Regions from separate parts of the Homo sapiens genome. Here region 2 is linked to region 1. Evidence: promoter capture Hi-C in human tissues and cell types (Jung and others, 2019). All regions are on one chromosome and are shown on one strand. Each heading gives the region's core, a stretch centred on a gene start or on the middle of the fragment in contact. The rest is flanking DNA. Distances are from core to core; before and after follow the strand shown. Region 1 holds the start of CHRM1 (cholinergic receptor muscarinic 1). Region 2 overlaps SLC22A25 (solute carrier family 22 member 25).

What was found. Contacts are between HindIII fragments. The study calls those that stand out against the background at their distance.
Region 2: a fragment that was not itself captured here is called in contact with the fragment with the promoter of CHRM1 in region 1 in 2 of the 25 tissues and cell types used here (mesendoderm cells and thymus).

The regions. Positions count from the first base shown.
Region 1 is chr11:62,918,059-62,925,742 of GRCh38, forward strand. It overlaps CHRM1 (cholinergic receptor muscarinic 1), which reads right to left and starts at 3,305. Exons shown (of 2, transcript NM_000738.3): 1 at 3,160-3,305. It overlaps LOC105369333 (a long non-coding RNA gene), which reads left to right and starts at 2,102. Exons shown (of 5, transcript XR_002957251.2): 1 at 2,102-2,383. It overlaps CHRM1-AS1 (CHRM1 antisense RNA 1), which reads left to right. Exons shown (of 3, transcript NR_199052.1): 3 at 1-303. RefSeq lists enhancers at 3,629-4,163, 5,927-5,986, 7,365-7,684. The HindIII fragment of the contact is 6,896 bases long and covers 1-6,516 here.
Region 2 is chr11:63,167,677-63,175,360 of GRCh38, forward strand. All of the region lies in intron 9 of SLC22A25 (solute carrier family 22 member 25), which reads right to left. Among named protein-coding and RNA genes, the nearest start is that of SLC22A24, 27 kb to the left of the region's middle. The HindIII fragment of the contact is 5,201 bases long and covers 837-6,037 here.

The DNA.
Region 1 (7,684 bases), core at 2,055-4,554:
TCCTGCCCTTGAGGGGTTGCGGGGGTTTGCCAGCCTCCTTGCCCACCTCAGCTAGCTTACTCAAGCCCAACTTTGAATCAGTTAACGATGAGCAATCGGTCCTTCTTTCAGAATCTGGCCTCCTTTGTGTGCGCGGCAGTGTCTGTCGTATATCTGTGTGATGTGTGATAACAGTGCTGTGGGAAGAGGGTGGGTCTACTGGAGCTCTTTAAAGGGCAGGGTAAGGGCTGCGTCTGTCTCATTCAATGCTTTATCCCAGGGCTTGGCAGATAGTAGTTGCTCAATAAATACCTGTGGAATAAATGTACGTGTGTGTACTCAACTTCAGACCCTGGAGCCTGAGGGTGAACCTGTGGGGGTCAGGACCAGGTCCAGAGCATGGTCCAGAGGCCCCTCTTCTCCCTTGAGCTCCCACATCTCATCTGCCAGGTCCCTGCTTCCCTGAGTGAGGCCCTGCCTGGCTGGAGAGCATAGGAGAAAAACAGCCAAGAGCATCCTTGTCTGTAAAGTGGACCAAGGAAACCCTGCCTCACCCGGCTGCAGGGAAGCTAAGTGAGGTGCCAGGACAGACATGGACGTGCCAAAGCATTTGTCACTGGGGAGAGGAGAATGTTAGCCTGGGCTCAAAGGGTTAAGGGATGAGGTCAGAGCCTTTATTACAGCAGGCCAGACTGTTGACTCCCAGCGCCCAGGACCAATCCCTAGGGGCTGGGGATCTGGCTTGTGAGAGCAACTGGGAGTGGAGAGAACCACTGGGGGAGGCAGGGAAAGGGAAATGGGGAGAGGGATTCCTGAACACCAGGCTTTTCTGAACGTACCGCTGGCCAAAGAGTACAGAAGGGGAGGGAGGGAATGAGGGGATGCTGGGGAAGATATTTAGGAGGGAGGAGCGGAGCCATCTTGTGATTCTGGGCCTGGAAGCTGGTAGAGTCCTGGTTAGGAAGAGGGGATAACATTGGGGAGTGGGAGGTATGTGGAGGGGGCTGTGGGGTTGGGCACCTGAGGCCTCACATATGCAATGAGGAGGGCGCTCCTTCTGGCCAGGTCTACTCACTGATCCCTTCTGCTAGGGCCTGACCCCAGAAGCCAGCCCATACGAGGCAGCTCTCCCCTCGGGGTTAACTTTTCTTTGACAGCAGCTCTTGACCCATTAAGGTGCACAAAACTTCCACCCCTGATGTCTGGCTTTGAGAATGAGGGAGTAAACAGAATTTATCACATTTTTAAGGCTCAACAGTTGCCATTGGGAGGGCCAACTAGTCTTGTGGAGGGCAGCAGCCATCAGTTAAATGCTACATGAAACACACTGCTTAGCTGGAAGAGAAGCATCAGCCCTAGAATCACTGCCAAATTTGCTCACCCATGATGGATCTTAAGCAGTTGCCTGACTTTGGCCAGACCATGACAGAGCCTGGGCATGAGCAGCTGGACCCTAGACCTCACTCTGCCAGTGTGGCATCAGAGGTTCTGGGTCCCTCATCCTCCTCTCCGCAAGCCCCCTGCTCCTGGCTCCTTGCACTCTCCTCCTCATTTCCTTTCTTCTCTCTCCCTCCCTCCTCCATCCTTGTAGGCATCACCATGGCACCACAGCAGAGCAGAAACCCAGCGCAATTCACCCACCTCTCCCCGCCTGCTGGGAGCCCAAGCTTCTGCGTCTCAGAGCTTACTGCGCCCCCTGCTCTCCCACCCCATCTTCCTGCTCATGGAGGCGGCAGCGCAGTGTTGTGCTGAGGATGCGGAGAAGGGGTCCGAGCCCCAGCTGGATCCCTACATATCCCTTCTCCGACCATGAGCATGTCCCTTTCCCTTTCTCAGCCTCAGTCCCTCCATACAATAGAAAGCCTCCTTTCTAGGTCTGACATGACCTCTGGTTAGCCCCTTCTTGACACTTTGGACTCCCCATTACACTTCAGAATCCAGTTCTCAGAACTCCAACCGCCAGCTGTCAGCTGCGAGCCAAGACCCACATCTTCTGCAGCCCATTTCACTATCTCCTTCCCTTTCATATCTCAGCCGCGATAGCGACTGCAGCTTGCCTGGTGGCTGAGGTCAGAGGGCAGAGAACTCTCATCTGACAGCCCACTGAACAGCTGATTACCCTGAGAAAGGAGACTGTCTGGCTACTGGAGACTGCCTGACTCCTTCCAGCCAGTTGGGCAGGGGTCTTGGGTCAGTCTGGGTGGAGCTGCAGGTGTGTTTTGTGCAAAGATGTGAACCCCTCTCCATTGGCTCTGATAACCTCTAAGCTGCACATGTCTGGATGACCTAATGAGAGCTGACGACCCCCTCCCCAGCTGGCCTGCCCAGGAGCTGACAACTCTACAAGCATCAGAGTTCCTGGCCCCTAGCCCATCCCCATGTTGTGCAGTCTGCGGGCACTGGGGTGAGTACCTGGCGTGGGTGCCCATTGGTATCCATGCATTGCCTGGATATAGGACTGAGACCCACCCTGCGGGAGCCCAAGATACTAGAAACATAAGGAGGGTCCTCTGGGCCCCTGCGCACGTCAGGGCCACCTTCCCTGGCTAGTGTGGCCACCCACATGCCCATTTGTCCCCAAAGAGCCCTGGGGCTCTTTGCCTGGTCTCCTGCTGGCTTCTGGCCTGACACCCACCTTGGCTTCTAGCTTCTCTATCTGGCCAGCAGCCTGATTCAGTCCATCTTGGGGGAGCTGAGGTGGACGGGGGTGGTGGGTTTCAGGGTGCCCTGAGGGAGGACAGGAGGTTCTGGGACTGGCACCCCCATCAAGATGGGGGTCAACCTCCCACAGGATGCTGGTGGCAAGGGCTGCTTCCTGGCCCTTTGCCCTTCCCACTCTGCCCCTAGGGTGTTGGGGGTTCTGCTTGCTACCAGGCAGCCTAATCCCTTCTGGGCCTCAGGTCCAGTTTCCTGAGGGGGATCTCCATCTCCTCTGCCAGCAGAAGCCCAGAAAAACATCAGCTATATCCACTCAAAGCCAGGAGGCCGAGTGTTTGGAGCAGTCAGTGTTCAATGCTACAGAGCCCCCTTGCCCTCTAGACCCCTCCCTGGCCTCCTCCTATCTCTGTGAGTCCATCCCTATTTCCATCTCATCCTGATCCCTGCCCTCCCCCGCTCCCCAGGACCCTCCTACCCTCTACCTTAGTGCAGCCCCTCCCAAGCCCTCCCAAATGTACTCACCACGGGGCTGAAGAGGGGTCTGTAGGGTCCTCAGCCCCACTGCCTCCCTGGGGGCCTGCGGCGTCTCCAGGGACCCAAACACCTGGCTCCCAGGGGGAGCTGCGCCCTGTGCTGGCAGCGGGAGAGGCACAGCCAGTGATTGGCATGTCCCACCCCCTGGCACGCCAGCCTTAGCGGGGAGGGAGAAAGGGAAAGAGAGGGAGGGAGGAAAGGGAGAAAAGGAAGGGAGGGGAGCTGGAGGGAAGCCTCAGGCAGCGTCTGGGGTTGGACTAGGTTCTGGAGTGTGCCCCCCTCCTTCACCAGGGCACCCAATTTGAGCCCCAAGAGGGAGGAGAAAGGACATGAGGAAGGCGAGCCCAGGAAGGCTAAAAGTCCCGGACGGGAGAGAAGGCGGATACAGGGAGACAAACACCCACACCCACTGCACAGACCCGGCGGCACACACACCCTCACAAAGGCACACTGTTTCCTTGGGCTCCTCCCCCCACCCAACCTTAGAGCCCCCAGCCCCTGTGCACCATGCCCCAACACACATGCCCTGGTATTCACATGCCTGCTTCCCTCGCACACACGCCCTCCCCCCTGCACATGCCCACGCACCCACCCACCCAACTACACACCCTGCTCTTCCTCCCTGCTGTGAGAGAGCTAGATTCCTTCTGTTTGGAAATGACACATTGGGCCTCACGTGAGAGGCTCCAACTTGGAACAGACCCAGAGGGCTGGCGCACCCGCCCGGGGGCTGAGTGAACGTGCCCGCATGCTGGGCTGTGTGCGCTAGCATTGGGCTATGCATAGCCTGTTGTGAGGGTATATGGGTGTCTGCTTTTCGGGGATGAGTAGAGGGCCAGGTGCCTGCCCCATGTGCGGCTGAGTGCCTTGCATATGTGTGTCCCTGTGTACTCATGTCACCATGCAGCCTGTGTAAGTGCAGGTGTGACCCTATCAGTCTGGAGGCAGGACGCGTGTGCACACGTGTGTCTGTATCTGATGTGTGGCTGAGTGTTGCCCAACTGTGGAACTTGCTAATTCTGACAAGTGAGGCAGCCTCTACCTGCCTGCTCCACCCCAAGCTTCCACTTGGAAGACAGACAGGCAGACAGACAGCTCTCCTCCCAGCTTGTCAAGCTCTGTCTCCCCTGACTCCCACTCAGGGCTCACAGGTGTGTACCTGGGAGGAGATGAGCCCTCCTCCCAATCTCCCTCAGCCCTACTGGGTGAGGCCAGCATCCCTCCCTGCCAGGCTGGTCTGGACTTCTGTGTTGAGCTTCCTCAGAGATAGAACCCCTGGGGGGCCGTTTGCCCTAGAGATGTGGGTCCTGCACCGCCTCTGTTTGGCCCTAGAGACCTCCCCGGGAGCTGACTGGGGAGGAGAGTTGGAGGCTGCAGGGACTGCCTTCTGGGGCTGCTGTGTTCTTTGCCCACTGGGCTGTGTCGAAGTCTTGGGGTGAGAGGTGGGAAGGAATGGGAGCATCAATTATCCCCATTTTGTAGGTGAGAAATCTGAAGAGCAGAGGTATGATTAGCATGTGGTGGGCAGGTGTTTGGGCTCAGGTCACTTGGCTCTAAGCCCAGGGCTCTGGAGTCTGGGGCAGGGGTTTCCCCTACTCATTTCCCCACCAAGCGCCGCCCCCCGCCCCCACAACCCCGCCAATGCTGGTGCCTGAGGGTAACCTGGGGCTTTCTCACCCAGGAGCCCAGTTGGCCAATGGAGCCAAGTGGAGCTGAAACTGGAGTTCCTGGGGTTTGGTCAGCAGCTACTGGTGGGCACACGTGGCAGGTACATGTGGGGGCATCTGTGCTTCTCAAAGCCAGCTGGGGTTCCAGCAGGCACCCAGTCCTCCTCCCTGCTGAAGTCAAGCAGACGCTGCAGCTTGGAGAGAAATCTAAGTGAGCATCCCCTTTCCATCCCAGGGTCACCCAGCCGGTCAGGGTTGGGTCAGAACTTGACCAGTCCCTACCCTTGGGCGCGGACTCGGGATGCCCCCTGCTGGGCTGCCCTGGGTTTGCGGCTGCGGCTTGGGCGGCGCGGTGGGGCTGCGTGTACTTGTGCGCGTACACGTGGCTGAGTGTGGGGGTGTTAGGCCTCCACGCTCAACATCCATTTCCGAATCTGAATCAGGCTCCCTCTTTGCCACCTCCCCCCAGTCTCCTTGGTCTCCCTTTTCTCTTCTCCCACCGCCTCTGCACACGTCCCTTTAGAAATAAAAACACTTATTTTGTGGGCGGGTGGGGAGGGTGTCCAGCTTTCCCCTGCCTCCTCCTGAGTGCCCCCCTCTGTCCCACGCGGCTTTCTTCTGAAGTCTGTGCAGTCGCGGACGCAGGGGGATGACGCCCCCCGCCACCCCCACCACTGTATCACTCTTCTGACGTCCCCGCCCAGACTTGGCTAGCTCACCCTTATCAGATGGGGAAACTGAGGCAGGAGGGGAGAAGAGAGGTACGGCCTGGAGAAGCGCTCCCGCCCGGCTCGCTCACCACCCCCGCACTCGCGCCCGATTTAGCCGCAGGGAGGCTGGGAACATTGTCTTTATTTTAAGCCTCCGAGTGCGGCACGAACGCGGCTGCTCGCGACAAAGGGCTTCTTGAAGCGGCTGCAGGCGGCGCACGTGGGGCTTTGGCCCCGCCCCCGCGCGACCCCCTCCAGTTCTCCCTCATTTCTGGCTGGGTTGGGTGGGGTCTGACTCTCGGGTCTCGGCTCCTGCTGGTTGTTATTTTTGGTCGCCTGGTCGAGAATTCAGTCCTCCAGGCCACCAAGGGAACGTGGAGTCGCCCTTGCGCGGCTCGGCCCCAGTCTCGGCCCCCTTACTGTGCAAGAGGAGAGTGCCCTGAATGCGAATTCAGCTTGGCCTTTTTCTAGTTGAAGCGGCCTGAGCAAGCTAGGCCCCCTCTCTAGGTCTCAGTTTCTTCATCAGTGACAAGAAGGGTAGAAATACCTCCCCGACCAGGCTGTTTGACGGGTTAGTTGAGCTTCTGCAGGTAAAACGTGGCACGTGCGTCTGCAAAAAGTGAAAGCCATCACTGCGGTTTTTTTTTTTTTTTTTAATACAGGGTTTCGGTCTCTTGGCCAAGCTGGAGTGCAGTGGCGCGATCAGAGCTCACTGCAATTGCCTGCCGGGCTCAAGCGATCCTCCCACCGCAGCCCTACCCCCTCACCCACTCTGAGTAGCTGGGACTACAGGCGCGCGCCACCCCACTGGCTTTTTTTTTTTTTTTTTTTTTTTTTAAATTTTTTATTGACAGGGTTTCACCATGTTGGCCAGGCTGGTCTTGAACTCCTGAGCTGAAGTGATCCGCCCGCCTCCGCCCCCCTCAGCTTTCTAAAGTGCTGGGATTACTGAGCCACCGCGTCCGGCAGTTCTTTTTTATAACACTTATTGAGCACTTACTATGTGTCAGGAACTGCTAAGTGCTCTCTCTCTCTCTCTCTCTCTCTCTCTCTCTCTCTCTCTATATATATATATATATATATATATATATATATATTTGTGAGACAGGGTCTCACTCTGTCGCCCAAGCTGTAGTACAGTGGCGTGATCTCGGCTTACCGGCAACCTCCGCCTCCCAGGCTCAAGGGATTCTCCTGCCTCAGCCTCCCGAGTAGATGGGATTACAGGCGCGCGCCACTACCGCCCAGCTAATTTTTGTATTTTTAGTAGAGACGGGGTTTCGCTATGTTGGCCAGGCTGGTCTCGAACTCCTGACCTCAAATAATCCACCCACCTTGGCCTCCCAAAGTGCTGGGATTACAGGCGTGAGTCACCGCATCCGCCCGGCCTCTATATTCTTATTATTTTATTTTATTTTATTGTTTTTTTTGAGACGGAGTCTCGCTCTTTCCTCCAGGCTGGAGTGCAGTGGTGCGATCTCGGCTCACTGCAACCTCTGCCTCCCGGGTTCAAGCGACTCTCCCGCCTCAGCCTCCCGAGTAGCTGGGACCACGGGCGCATGCCACCACGCCCTGCTAATTTTTTGTATTTTTAGTAGAGACGGGGTTTCACCTTGTTAGCCAGGATAGTCTTGATATGCTGACCTCCTGATCCACCCGCCTCGGCCTCCCAAAGTGCTGGGATTACACGCGTGAGCCACAGCGCCCGGCCTATATTCTTTAATTTACTTTCACAACTCTATGAGGGAGGTTCCATTATTCCCATTTTACAGATGAGTAGATTTACAAGAGGCGTGGGTCCCTGTGGTTTCATGGAGGATGAGGTCAGTGCGCCTGGAGCCATCCTGGGGCTGAGCACCTGCTGCAGTTCCAGAGACGGCAGGGACTGTGGGACAGCATTTTTAAGATTCCCAGGGTCCGGCAAGGCCGCAGGTGGGTGGAGGAATGAATGAGCAGGCTCCGGGAGTGCGCTGCAGACCCGGAGTGTAAGTCTCCGCCCTTGGTTTTAATCCGTGTCAGAAACTCAAACCCAGCTAAATGTGCCACTTTTACAGTGCCGCTTCCTCTGTCCTGGGGCACACATTCTGAGTCCGGGTGGGAGGCAGCGGGTCGGCCTAAGGGCGCCCCTCCTCGCAT
Region 2 (7,684 bases), core at 2,187-4,686, 250 kb after region 1:
TAGATAAAACTCCCATCACCTGGGACAGAGCACTTTGGGGAAGGGGTGGCTGTGGGTGCAGCTTCAGTGGACTTAAACATTCTTGCTTGCCAGCTCTGAAGAGAGCAGTGGATCTCTCAGCACAGTGCTTGAGCTCTGCTAAGGGATAGACTGCCTCCTTAAGTGGGTCACTAACACCTGTGCCTCCTGACTGGGAGACACTTCCCAGCAGGGGTCAACAGACACTTCATACAGGAGAGCTCTGGCTGGCATCAGGCAGGTGCTCCTCTAAAATGAAGCTTCCAGAGGAAGGAGCAGGCAGGAATCTTTGCTGTTCTGCAACCTCCGCTGGTGATACCCAAGCAAACAGGATCTGGAGTGGACCTCCAGCAAACTCCAGCAGACCTGCAGAAGAGGGACCTGACTGTTAGAAAGAAAACTTACAAACAGAGAGAAGTAACATCAACATCAACAAAAAGGATGCCCCCACAAAAACCCCATCCAAAGGCCATCAGCATCAAAGATCAAAGGTAGATAAATCCATAAAGATGAGGAAAAACCAGTGCAAAAATGCTGAAAATTCCAAAAAACCGAATGCGTCTTCTCCTCCAAATGATGACATTTCTCTCCAGGGAGGGCATTAAACTGGATGGAGAATGAGTTTGACAAATTGACAGAAGTAGGCTTTAGAAGGTGGGTAATAACAAACTCCCCTGAGCTAAAGAAGCATGTTCTAACCCAATGCAAGGAAGTTAAGAACCTTAATAGAAGGTTGCAGGAACTGCTAACTAGTTAACCAGTTTAGAGAAGAACATAAATGACCTGATGGAGCTGAAAAACACAGCACGAGAACTTTGTGAAGCATACACAAGTATCAATAGCTGAATCAATCAAGTGGAAAAAAGGATATGAGAGATTGAAGGTCAATTAAATGAAATAAAGTGTGAAGGAAAGACTAGAGAAAAAAGAATAAAAGGAACAAACCAAGCCTCCAAGAAATATGGGACTCTGTGAAAAGACCAAATCTATGATGGATTGGTGTACCTGAAAGTGACAGGGAGAATAAAAGCAAGTTGGAAATCACATGTCAGGACATTATACAGGAGAACTTCCCCAACCTAGCAAGACAGGCCAACATACAATTTCAGGATATACAGAGAACACCACTTAGATACTCCTTGAGAAGAGCAACACCAAGACACATGATTGTCAGAGTCTTCAAGATTGAAATGAAGGAAAAAAATGTTAAGGGCAGCCACAGAGGAAGGTCAGGTTACCTACAAAGGAAAGTCCATCAGACTAACAGTGGATCTCTCTGCAAAAACCCTACAATCCAGAAGAGAGTGAATGCCAATATTCAACATTCTTAAAATAAAAGAATTTTCAACCCAGAATTTCATATACAGCCAAACTAAGCTTCATAAGCAAAGGAGAAATAAAATTCTTTCCAGACAAGTAAATGCTGAGGGATTTTGTCACCAGCAGGCCTGCCTTACAAGAGCTCCTGAAGGAAGCACTAAATATGGGAAGGAAATACTGGTACCAACCACTGCAAAAACATACCAAAATATAAAGACCAATGATGCTATGTAGAAACTGCATCAACTAATGTGCAAACTAAGCAGCTAACATCATGATGACAGGATCAAATTAAACATAACAATGTTAACCTTAAATGTAAATGGGCTAAATGCCCCAATTAAAAGACACAGACTGGCAAATTGCATAGAGTCAAGACCCACTGGTGTGCTGTATTCAGGAGACCTATCTCATGTGCAAAGACACACATAGGTTCAAAATAAAGGGATAAAGAAATATTTACCAAGCAAAGAGAAAGAAAAAAAAGCAGGGATTGCAATCCTATTCTCTGATAAAACAGAGTTTAAGCCAACAGAAATCAAAGAAGACAAAGAAGGGCATTACATAATGATAAAGGAATCAATGCAACAAGAAGAGCTAACTATCCTAAATATATACACACACAACACAGGAGCACCCAGATTCATAAAGCAAGTTATTAGAGACCTACAAAGAGGCTTAGATTCCTACGCAATAATAGTAGGAGACTTTAACATCCCACTGTCAATATTAGATCAACTAGACAGAAAATCAACAAGGATATTCAGGACTTGAACTCAACTCTGGACCAAGTGGATCTCTAATAGACATCTACAGAACTCTCTACCCCAAATCAACAGAATATACATTCTTCTCAGCACCACATCGCACTTATTCTAAAATTGATCACATAATTGGAAGTAAAACACTCCTCAGCAAGTGCAAAAGAACAGAAATCATAACAAACAAGTCTCTCAGACCACAGTGCAATCAAATTAGAACTCAGGATTAAGAAACTCATTCAAAACCACTCAACTACGTGGAAACTGAACAACCTGCTCCTGAATGACTACTGGGTAAATAATGAAGTAAAGACAGAAATAAAGAAGTTATTTGAAACGAATGAGAACAAAGACAAAATGTATGAGAATCTCTGGGACACAGCAAAAGCAGTATTAAGAGGGATTTTACAGCACTAAGTGCCCACATCAGAAAGCGAGAAAGATCTAAAATCGATACCCTAACATCACAATTAAAATAACTAGAGAAGTAAGAGTGAACAAATTGAAGAAAAGCTAGGCAAAGACAAGAAATAACTAAGATGAGAGCAGAACAGAAGGAGACAGAGACACAAAACCACTCATAAAAATCAATGAATCCAGGAACCAGTTTACTGAAAAGATCAACAAAATAAATAGACTGCTAGCAAGACTAATAAAGAAGAAAAGAGAGAAGAATAAAATAGACACAATAAAAAATGATATAGGGGATATCACCGCTAACCCCACAGAAATACAAACTACCGTCAGAGAATACTATAAACACCTCACACAAATAAACTAAAAATCCAGAAGAAATGGATAAATTCCTGGACATATACACCCTCCCAAGACTAAACCAGGAAGAAGTTGAATCCCTGAATAGACCAATAACAAGTTCTGAAATTGAGGCAGTAAATAATAGCCTACCAACTCAAAAAGCCCAGGACCAGATGGATTCACACCTGAATTCTCCCAGAGGTGCAAAGAGGAGTTGGAACAATTCCTTCTGAAAATTCTTCAAATAATAGAAAAAGAGGGACTCCTCCCTAACATATTTTATGAGGCCAGCATTATCCTGATACCAAAACCTGGCAGAGACACAACCAGAAAAGAAAATTTCAGGCCAATATCCCTGATGAACATCAATGCAAAAATCCTCAGCACAATACTGGCAAACTGAATCCAGCAGCACATCAAAAGCTTATCCACCACGATTAAGTAGGCTTTATCCCTGGGATGCAAGGCTGGTCCAACATAGAAAAATCAATAAATATAATCCATCACGTAAACAGAATCAATGACAATAGCCACACGATTATCTCAATAGATGCAGAAAAGACCTTCAATCAAATTCAACACCCTTCATGGTAAACTACTCAATAAACTAGGTATAGATGGAACATATCTCAAAATAATAAGAGCTATTTATGACAAACCCATAGCCAATATCATACAGAATGGGCAAAAGCTGGAAGCGTTCCCTTTGAAAACTGGCACAAGACAAGAATGCCCTCTCTCACCACTCCTATTCAACATAGTATTGGAAGTTCTGGCCACGGTAACCAGGCAAGAGAAGGAAATGAAGGGTATTCAAATAGGAAGAGAAGAAGTCAAATTGTCTCTGCAGATGACATGATTGTATATTTAGAAAACCCCATCATCTCAGCCCCAAAACTCCTTAAGCTGATAAGCAACTTCAGCAAAGTCTCAGAATACAAAATCAATGTGCAAAAATCACAAGCATTCCTATTCATCAACAATAGACAAACAGAGAGCCAAATCATGAATGAACTCCCATTCACAATTGCTACAAAGAAAATAAAATACCTAAGAATACAACTTACAAGGGACGTGAAGGAGCTCTTCAAGGAGAACTACAAACCACTGCACAAGGAAATAAGAGAGGACACAAACAAATGGAAAAACATTCCATGCTCATGGATAGAAAGAATCAATATCATGAAAATGGCCATATTGCCCAAAGCAATTTATAGATTCAATGCTATTCCTCAAGCTAACATTGACTTTTTTTGCAGAACTAGAAAAAACTACTTTAAATTTCACATGGATTTTAAAAAAGCTTGTATAGCCAAGACAATGCTAAGCAAAAAGAACAAAGCTGGAGGCATCATACTGCCTGACTTCAAATATACTACAAGGCTAAAGTAATCAAAACTGCATGGTACTGGCACCAAATCAGATACATAGACCAATGGAGCGAACAGAAATAACACCACACATCTACTACCATCTCGTCTTTGACAAACCTGACACAAATGAGCAATGGGGAAAGGATATCCTATTTAATAAATGGTGCTGGGAAAACTGGCTAGCCATATGCAGAAAACTGAAACTGGACCCCTTCCTTACACCTTATACAAAAATTAACTCAAGATGGATAAAAGACTTAAATATAATACCTAAAACCATAAAACCCCTAGAAGACAACTTAGGCAATACCATTTGGGACATAGGCACAGGCAAAGACTTCAGGACTAAAACACCAAAAGCAATTGCAACAAAAGCCAAAATTGACAACTGGGATCTAATTAAACTAAAGAGCTTCTGCACAGCAAAAGAAACTATCATCAGAGTGAACAGGCAACCTACAGAATGGGATAAATTTTTGCCATCTATACATCTGACAAAGTTCTAATATCTGGAATCTACAAGGAACTAATCAAATTTACAAGAAAAAAATCCCATCAAAAAGTGGGCAAATGATGTGAACAGACACTTCTCAAAATAAGACATTTATGTGGCCAACAAACATATGAAAAAAAGCTCATCATCACTGGTCATCAGACAAATGCAAATCGAAACCACATCGAGATACCATCTCATGCCAGTTTGAAGAGGAGCTAGGTGTGGGTGTTTTCAGTGCCTTTCACAGGATACCTTTTTTTTTTTTTTTTTTTAACCTGGTGGATAGCCTAATGTGATCCTTAAAAAGTTAGGAAACAACAGATGCTGAAGAGGATGTGGAGAAATAGAAACAATTTTACACTGTTGGTGGGAGTGTAAATTAGTTCAACCATGTGGAAGACAGTGTGTTGATTCATCATGGATTTAGAAAAAGAAATACCATTGGACCCAGCAATCCAATTACTGGGTATATTATTCAAAGGATTAGAAATCATTCTACTATAAGGACACATGCACATGTATGTTTACTGCAGCACTATTCACAATAGCATAGACTTGGAACCAACCCAAATGCCCATCAATGATAGACTGGATAAAGAAAATGTGGCACATATACAGCATGGAATACTATGCAGCCATAAAAAAAGATGAGTTCCTGTCCCTAACAGGGACATGGATGAAGCTGGAAACCATCATTCTCAGCAAACTAACACAGGATCAGTAAAGCAAACAACACAGGTTTTCACTCATAAGTGGGAACTGAACAATGGGAACACATGGACACAGGGAGGGAGACATCACACACTGGGGCCTGTTGGGGGTGGGGGGCAAGGGGTGGGAGAGCATTGGGACAAATACCTAATGCATACATGGTTTAAAACCTAGATAATGGGTTGATGGGTGCAGAAAACCACCATGGCACATGTATACCAATGTAACAAACCTGTATGTTCTGCACATGTATCCCAGAACTTAAAGTATAATTTTAAAAAAGAGGCAGTCAATAAACTTTAATTATATATTCAACATACATTTGTATCTCATTGTAGTGAATACTTATAATTTTATGTTATGTCAGCATCCATTTTGAATTCAAGTTTAACTTTCTTATACCAGAGGCAGGGCTCAGTCACCCTTGACACAGTTTCCATTTCTATGCCACTCCCAAATGGCCAGAGAGAAAAACTTGGAGCCATCTCTCCTGCCTAGCAGATTGGGTTTGTGACTTTCCCAGTGCTTCTTGTAAGTGTACAATTCAGGCATTTGCCTGGAAGCTCTAAGTGACCCACAACCTACTTCCTTATGTATACTGCTCACTGCCATGTACATTTCTCTCTCTGTGCATGATTCTTTATTTCTGCATCATGTGATCTGGTGATCCTTACCCAGGATCTGTAAGTAGACATCCTTGAACTTGTTTCCTTTTGTTCAGTGCATTGAATTTATGCTTTCCATTGGAAGAACTAGGGGCTAGCTATTCAAGGTTGGATTTTCTTTTCTTTTTTTTTTTTTTTATTACATTTTAAGTTCTGGGATACATGTGCAGAACGTGCCTTTTTGTTACATAGGTATACAAGTGCCATGGTGGTTTGCTGCACCCATCAACTCATCACCTACATTAGGTATTTCTCCTAATGTTATCCCTCCCCTAACCCACCACCCCCTGACAGGCCCTGGTGTGTGATGTTCGCCTCCCTGTGTCCATGTGTTCTCATTGTTCAACTCCCACTTATCAGTGAGAACACACGGTGTTTGGTTTTCTGATCTTGTGAGTTTGCTGAGAATGAGATGGTTTCCAGCTTCATCCATGTCCCTGCAAAGGACATGAACTCATCCTTTTTTATGGCTGCATAGTATTCCATGGTGTATATGTGCCACATTTTCTTAATCTAGTCTATCAAGGTTGGATTTTCTCTAGGATAGCAATGAGAACACAAGATTGGGCTCCCAGTGGCAGAGCAATGGTCAGGCAGGCATAAATTGCACATAGATCAGATAAGAACCACAATGGCATATGCCAGTCTAAGCTATTTTCCTGTGTGACTACCTAGTTGTCCAAACCTTCCTAGTTATGGTTTGGACAACTAGGCACTAGCTGTCCACCAGGTAAAACACGTATCCTGTGAAAGGCACTGAAATCACCCACGTCTAGTTCCTCTTCTTTTTCCCTTAGGGCAGGCTTGCCAGTCACTCAGATACTGAAATCCCAGTTTAGCTGGGAACTCTCAAAACACCTATTTACTTTTTAAAACTGTGGTAAAAATGCATAACACGAGTTCTGCCCTGTTAACAAATTTTTAAGTGTACAGTAAAATATTCTTAACTGTATGCATAATGTTGCACAGCATCTTGCGTAACTGACACTTTATGCCCATTAAATGGGAACTTCCTATTTCCCTCTGCCCTCTGCCCCAGGAAACTATGATTCTACTTTCTGCTTCTATAAATTTGATTATTTTAGATATCTCATATAAGGGGAATTGGCGGTGTTTGTCCTTCTGTCCTGGCATATTTAACTTAGCATAATGTCCTCAAGTTTCAAACATGTTGGATATGACATTTTTCTTTCCATGGCTGACTAATATTCCATCATGAGTACGTACCACATTTTACTTATCCATATGTCAATGGACATTTAAGTTGCTTCTACATCTTGGCAATTATGAATAATGTTGCAATGAACATGGGAGTGCAAATATCTCTTCCCAATCCTGATTTCAATTGTTTCTTTGAAAAACTGAGATCCTAGAAGTAGGATTGGTGAATCATATGGTAGTCCTACTGCTTTCCATAGGGGCTATACTATTTACATTTTCACTAACAGTGTACAATGGTTCCAATTTTTCCACATTCTTGCCAACAGTTATTATCTCTTATTTATTTATTCAATTTATTTATGATAATGTCCTAACAGATTTGAAGTAATATCTGATTGTAGTTTTGACTTGCATGTTCCTGAC